Regions from separate parts of the Homo sapiens genome. Here region 2 is linked to region 1. The links are contacts of gene promoters, found by promoter capture Hi-C in human tissues and cell types (Jung and others, 2019). All regions are on one chromosome and are shown on one strand. The core of a region is centred on a gene start or on the middle of the fragment in contact, and the rest is flanking DNA. Distances in the headings are between cores, read along the strand shown.

Region 1 (3,689 bases), core at 346-2,845:
GGATAGGTCCTCGCTACAGCGGTCTCCGCCTAGAACAATCCCCGCTGCCCATACATGGTCAGCTCCTCCTCACCCTCCAGGGGCCTACCTGACCCCATGGCTTGACAGGCCCCACCCAGCACCACAGCACTGCTCTCCCTGGTGGCTGGGACAGGAGCGCCCCCACAAATCCTGCGGCCAGGCTGCCAGTCTTAACTCCCACCCCTGACTCCACCCGTGTGACCTTCGCCTCTCTGTGTTTGTTTCCTCGTCTGTAAAATGCAAAAGACAATTCCTACCTGGAAGGGTAGGGGGGATAAACAAGTTAACAAATGTAAAGCACGTAGAACAGCACAAATGCTTGAGTTTGTGTTGGTTGTTATTATTACTCTCTAGCCGATGGAGCTTAAACGGTGTGGTCTATCCCGGAGGACGAACTCCAGGTCCCACACTCTGTGGTGTCAAGTACACAGAAGGCCCTCAGAACCCGGCTGAGTGAACCCAGTGGTCCCTTCTGATTCACCGTTCACTTATTGCGTGTCTTCTCCATGCCAGGTGCTGGGCTGCCAGCTGCAGATGGAGCAGCGAACAAGCCCAGGGCTCCTCCCCCAGGTAAGCAGTGTCACTTCTAGGCCAGAGGGGCTCAAATGTTTTGGTCTAAGAAGCTTCTTACATTTAAAACTTCAGAATCCCCTCACTCCTGTAATCCCAGCACTTTGGGAGGCTGAGGTGGGCGGATCACTTGAGGTCCGGAGTTCAAGACCAGCCTGGCCAACATGGCAAAACCCCGTCTCTACTAAAAATTTTTTAAAAAGAAAATTAGCCGGCCGTGGTGGCGGGCGTCTGTAATCTCAGTTACTCGGGAGGCTAAGGCAAAAGAATCGCTTGAACCCGGGAGGCGGAAGTTGCAGTGAGCCGAGATCGCTGCACTCCAGCCTGGGCGACAGAGCGAGATTCCGTCTCAAAAAAAAAATTAATTTAATTAAATAAAATAAATTTTAAAAAATTCAGGATCCCAAAGAACTTTTGTATGTAGGCAACTGATATTTGCCATACTAGAAACTAAAACAAAAATTTTACATATTCATTAATTCACTTAAAATGACAATAAACCCATTGCTTGGTAACATAAACAACGTATTTTATGAGAAATAATTGTAGTTTTCAAAACAAAGATATGTCTTTAATGTCTGGCTTAAGGGAAGACAACTGGATTCTCATGCTGCACTCAACCTGTGCGATACCTAGTGCTGGTTGAAGTATATGAAAAACACTCCGCCCTGTCCCCATCCTAGCCCGCCACGGAGCCACGAGACCCGAGAGGATTGGCCAACCCGGCGGAGCAGGTTGCGGACGGCTTCCGGGGAAGGAGGGGACTGAGCGCCAGGAGCCAGGTAGATTGGGATTGAGTAACACATGTGTCTTTCTGCGCCTTGGACCCGCCTCCAGTTTCCGCCCCTTCTTCCGCTCAAGTGTAAACCCCTAACGCATGCGTCCTAAGAAAGATGGGCACTTCCGCCCATCCCCCTCCGGATCCCTCTGTTCGGGCTCGGGTTTCCGCCGAGACGACAGGGACTGCCAGGTCGGAAGTAGTGTGAGGCTCGTGGGCGGAGCCAAGCGCCGCCATGTCCGCCGCCCTGCTGCGGCGGGGCCTGGAGCTGCTGGCGGCGTCCGAGGGTGAGGAGGGCTGGCCAGGGGACGTCCGGCGCGGGCAGGAGGATGGTAGTGGCTGCGGGCGGGAGCCCTGGATGGAAAACAATCCAGGCCGGGCTTAGCCCCAGTGGCATGGGAACGCTGCGCGCCCTCTGACCTGGGTCTCTTCCTCTCTCTTCCCCTACAGCCCCCCGGGACCCTCCAGGTCAGGCCAAGCCGAGAGGGGCTCCGGTGAAACGGCCCCGGAAGACGAAGGCAATTCAGGCCCAGAAACTGCGGAACTCGGCCAAGGGAAAGGTGCCCAAGTCGGCACTGGGTAAGTTCGGGAAGGGGCTGAAAGTGCTGCCTCCGGTGCTGGGACCTGCGCCCCAGAGGAGGTGGCGCTTGAGGCAGGGCTTGAAGCGTTCGCCCGGTATTGCTAGACCTACTGTGTGCCAGGCGCGGAGCGGGGCCCTGGACATACGAAGGTGACAGAACACGCCACCGTCCTGGTCCTCGTGGACTACGGCCCTAGTGGGGAGAGAAGCATCAAAGAATATCAAACCCAGTGTGTCATTGCTAAGTGCATTGAAGCCTATGAATTAAAAGACTACGGTACTCTGATGGGGACTTAGGCCAAGTCAGCCTTCTCTGAGGAAGCGACATTTCAGCCGAGAGCTGAAGGATGTATAAGAGTGAGCTAGGTGAAAAGTAGGAGAATATTCTAGGAAGAATAGTATGTGCAAAGGTCCTGAGTCAGAAAGGAGGTTGTTGCCTTTGAGAATTTGAAAAAATAAAGGCTGGTAAAGGTGACCTAGTGAATGAGGATCAAAGATGGAGCATTTAAACACATTCACTAACACTCTGTACCAGGTGCTGATTCTAAGTGCTGTACAAATGTAAGCTCGTTTGATCCTTACAGCAGCCCTTTGAGGTCGATACTACTATCACCCCCGTTTTACAGATTCAGAAAAAGGCACCTGCCCAGGTGGTACAGGCATTGTGGCTGCCCGGGCATTGTGTCTCCAGAGTGCTGCTATTACCTACTCCATTGAAATAGGACATGCTGTGGCCTGGGCAGTGGCTATAGCAGCAGAGATAACAAGAGAATTGTGCAGGTGGAAAATATGTTAAAGAGGGGGCAGCAGAGAATTTCAGCCTTTAGAGGGGTTTTAGTGGTGAATTGGCTGTGAAGGTGGAGCCTAGTTTCTTGGGGGACGTAGTGTCACTTAATAGACATAAAGACTTTCGGAGGGGCTGGTGTAGGCAAGATGGTGATATTTTGACATGTGTCAGGACGTGGCAAGCTCTTACTGTGTCTGAATCCCTAGAGTCTAATGCATAAAAGATGTTAAAGTATTTGTTAAAAGAATTATGAATTCCAAGGAGGAAATACAACTTAAGCCAAAGTCTGGAGGCAGGAAAGTGAGACAGGTTTGAGCCCCAGCGATACTTGCCATGAAGCAGGAGTGTGGAGTGCCAGAGGTCATTCCCATCTGTCCCAGCCCTTGTCTCACTGTCGTGTCCTGGGTGCTCACCCACCTCCCCTGTTGGATGGAAGCTCCTAAAGGCACACACCTCCTTGGGCTTGTCCGCAGCCTTGGTGTCCACCACAGGTTTTGGCACATAGATGCTGAGTGAGAGGAATGGCAAGCCTCGCAGCCAATGGAAAGAACACCTCTGCAGCTGCCACTTTGCTCCAAGCTGCATCGTCTCTTGCCTGAATTATTGCAGAAGCCTAGCCGGTCTCCTGCCTTCCACATGCCCCTCCCCCCGTAATCTTGTTCTCAACAGCAACCAAAGTGATCGTGTAAAATCAGAAGTCATTCCTTGTTTTTCCTCTGGGTGGCTCTCATTGTAGTCACTAAAAGGTGGCGGTCTTAGGGTGCCTGACAAGGGCTATATGACCTACCCCCACCCCCAGCCAAACTTGGTCTCTTCCTGCTACCCACTCCCCCTACTCCAGCTGTTTTTGTTGTTGTTTTTGGTTTGTTTTTTTTTTTTTTGAGATGGAGTCTTGCTTTGTCACCCAGGCTGGAGTACAGTGGTGCAGTCTCATCTCACTCCAACCTCTAGCC
Region 2 (3,689 bases), core at 300-2,799, 310 kb before region 1:
AGAGCTACCAAGCAAATGGAAAACAAAAAAAGGCAGGGGTTGCAATCCTAGTCTCTGATAAAACAGACTTTAAACCAACAAAGATCAAAAGAGACAAAGAAGGCCATTACATAATGGTAAAGGGATCAATTCAACAAGAAGAGCTAACTATCCTAAATATATATGCACCCAATACAGGAGCACCCAGATTCATAAAGCAAGTCCTGAGTGACCTACAAAGAGACTTAGACTCACTGGTAGTTTCTAAGAGCGCTCCCTAATGGCTCTCCCACATGCAAATCTGAGTCTGAGAGTCTGTTTCCTAGGGAACCCAACCTACAATGGCTTTTCCTCTAGATTTAAAATATAGGACAGTAATAATATGTGTACATAAATAGATAATGAGAATAGAGAATAAAGCAAATGGGGCAAAATGTTAACAATTGGTGAATCTGGGATGAAGACCATATGGGCATTCTTTGTACTATTCTTGTTACTTTTCTGTAAGCTTAAAATTATTACAAAATCAAAGTTAAAAAAAATATGACAAATACCAACTACTTTAAGATGCTTAAGTTAGCCAGGCGCGGTGGCTCACACCTGTAATCCCAGCACTTTGGGAGGCCGAGGTGGGTGGATCACGAGGACAGCAGATCGAGACCACGGTGAAACCCTGTCTCTACTAAAAATACAAAAAATTAGCCAGGGGCAGTGGTGGGTGCCTGTAGTCCCAGCTACTCGGGAGGCTGAGGCAGGAGAATGGTGAACCTGGGAGGCGGAGCTTGCAGTGAGCTGAGATCACGCCACTGCACTCCAGCCTGGGCGACAGAGCGAGACTCCGTCTCAAAAAAAAAAAAAGATGCTTAACTATGTGCCAAAACAACGAAATTGGAGTCAAGGTTCCAAATTCACAATTCTGTAAAAGTTAGATATAAATTTAAGCACCATGAGACTTGACTTTTAGATCTTACTAGCTCTTCCTTAGCCCACTGAATATTTTCTATAATGCAATATATCTGTCTGTTACTAAAAATTAATTTTTTAAGCAAATTATTTAATTCACTTACATTACACCTAAAAGGACATGGTTATTATATGCTAAATAATAAATGGAACAATTTGGAAATCTGTTCAACTTATGGAGCGTTGCATTTCCAAAATGTATGGTGCATTGCTAATGCCTGATAATTTGAACGTCAGTTTGATATCTCATCTAAGAAATATCGGAGGGTTCACAAGTTCTGCTTTGTGGTATTATCTGAGTGGTGCGGGCTCAGTGGGATGTACAGCTTCTTTCTAGATAGTTTCCACAAAGTACTTACAACCTTGGTATCGAAGCACTCATCTTTGAATGACTCAATGGCTTCATTTCCTGCAGCATCATTACTTTTTCCTCTGAGGTTTCTCATTCACATACTAGTCTTCACTGGCTTGTGACTTCACAGTGTCAATTGATAAGTAGCTTACAAGACCAAAGGGATCTCATTTCCACTAAGGAACTATAAGGAACTAAATGTATGTTCTCTCCTACTTGCTTGTGAAAATCCAGAAATAAATGTTGTGTAATTACCAAATCTAATTAAGCACACCTCACTTCCAGTGTTATGCTATCTGATACTGAAAGAAAAATTTAATGAGTTTCCATAGACCCACTATATTCTAATTGCTTTCTTTCTTGCCTCATAAGATAGGTTTACTACATTTAGGCTATTCTAGGCCAAAATGCATCTCCAACATGCAAGATATTTTTTCTTTCACATTTCTTGCTATTCTTCAGTTTCTCTCAAAATTTACTTCAAAATTGACCATCTGACATTTTTACTAATCTACTTCTGTAATGTCTAAAACCTAAGACCATATGATTTCCAAGATAATTTAGTTGCTGAATGCCGAGCAAGTGATAATGTAGTTGATTAAATCCAGTGAAAGTAGATAGATGATCTAAGCCCCAAGTCACCACTCTTTGCCAATATTAGCTACAAAATCTCCAAGCCCCAAATAAGCTCATTTTAATTATTCACTTTTATGTGAAGTTAAAACAAAATGAAAAGTTACAACCATAAATGAAAGATTCTTATTTCTTCAGTATCTCTGGCATCTACCATACTTTCTCCCTTTGCCCACGTAGGTCCTTCTGCTCGGAGTAATTTATCTTTGCCTCTACCCTTATTGGAATCCTAGCCGTCCTTCAAAGCCTTGTTCAAATTTTACTTCCTCTTTGTGGTTGTTTTTGATTACTCTGGTGCACATTGTTGTTTTCCTCCTTAGAGTATCTGTTCCTAAAATTAATTAATTCAAGAACGTTTAGCATATAATTGTTCTCTGTTTCCTGTAAGTCTGTATGTTAGACTTATATACCTAGTCAGGCTATAAACTTCTAGAAGGTAAAGACTGTGCCTTATATTACCGCTTTTCAGTATTTTTTTTTGTTTTGCATAACCCCTAAAATGATTTTGAAACACTATGTACCTCCTCACACATTTTTGAGTTGATATATGAAGTTTTATAAGTATAAATAACTGCAAAGGATATAATTCTGGCACGTTGTAAATATTGACATTAAGGACAAAAGAAAAGAAAAAACAAGCAAACTGTTAAGTTATATCCATCTTTTAAATGTATCTAAGGGAATCTAAATACCATTGTGATTGATAACTGTAGTCATTCATTTAAAAAAAAATACATGAAGTCCTTAACTGTTAGAAATTTTACATTATTCCCTTTTCTCTCTGAAGTCATATGTTTATTCTACATTTCTTGCAGAATTTTATTCTAATATAAAATATTTTTATGCTTGGAAATCTTCTCTACATCAAATAGATATAAAATTGAAATTATTTTTCTAAATTTTCTCTGACCAAAGGTTTTAATATTTCTTCTAGATTGACTTATTACAATTATTGTTAGTATGCAGTCAATCAAAACCACATAAATGCATTATAAATTTGTATGAATATTTGTTAAATATAATTTTATTAGAAATATATGGTTTTATGAGATAATTGGAACTGCTCGTTTGCCCACATAGGAGTGTGACTGATTGCTAGCTACAAGCAGGGCTCAGCAGAAATCCTGCCTCTATTTTATTTATATTTGTATAAAGATAAATGCTGAGAAAACTTGTTCACCTAAATCATAGATGGGACAAGAAGGTGCTTTATTATAATAGTGTCAGTCAATTCTATGAATTTCTTCCAAGTAATATGCTGGAAATTATATAGTGATTTATTATAAAATATATTTTTATCTCTTGTTGACTGTTAACTTGATGAAGTCATTTTTCAGTGTTGCTAAAAGCAAAGAATTAGAAACACCCTACTTAGAAAAAGACTTGTTAAACAGTCATAAGGAGTAATTTACTTTCTCAATTTCTGGGAAGAATACCAAAAAAATTCATACTAAAATTTATTAAATAACTATTAATTAAACCTGTTATACTTTAATTTAACCGAATATACTCAGAAAGTGTGAGAAAAATTAAAATATTAATTGCAGTATATCTGTCAATACAATTTTTTGAGAAAATAATTTTATTGTATCATATGCTGTAAATATACTTTCATCAACTCTACAGAACCTCAGATTTGGTTCATTCAATTTTTGGAAAATATTTACCATATAATCTAGGTTGGTAAAGCCAACTCTCATTGTTAAGACAACTAGCCAAATCAGATTTAAAGTTTCCTTCAGAAAATGTCTTACTTTATTCA

What was found. Contacts are between HindIII fragments. The study calls those that stand out against the background at their distance.
Region 2: a contact is called between a fragment that was not itself captured here and the fragment with the promoter of RPS19BP1 in region 1, in 1 of the 25 tissues and cell types used here (IMR-90 fibroblasts).

What each region holds. Positions count from the first base shown.
Region 1 is chr22:39,530,654-39,534,342 of GRCh38, reverse strand. RPS19BP1 (ribosomal protein S19 binding protein 1) reads left to right here and starts at 1,595. Exons shown (of 4, transcript NM_194326.4): 1 at 1,595-1,656; 2 at 1,820-1,948. The coding sequence starts at 1,605. RefSeq lists enhancers at 1,401-1,450, 1,501-1,560, 1,350-1,865, 1,866-2,381 and silencers at 1,671-1,830, 2,011-2,140. The HindIII fragment of the contact is 6,935 bases long and covers 1-3,689 here.
Region 2 is chr22:39,837,908-39,841,596 of GRCh38, reverse strand. The region is part of intron 3 of ENTHD1 (ENTH domain containing 1); the gene reads left to right. Among named protein-coding and RNA genes, the nearest start is that of ENTHD1, 54 kb to the left of the region's middle. RefSeq lists an enhancer at 2,238-2,287. The HindIII fragment of the contact is 3,011 bases long and covers 44-3,054 here.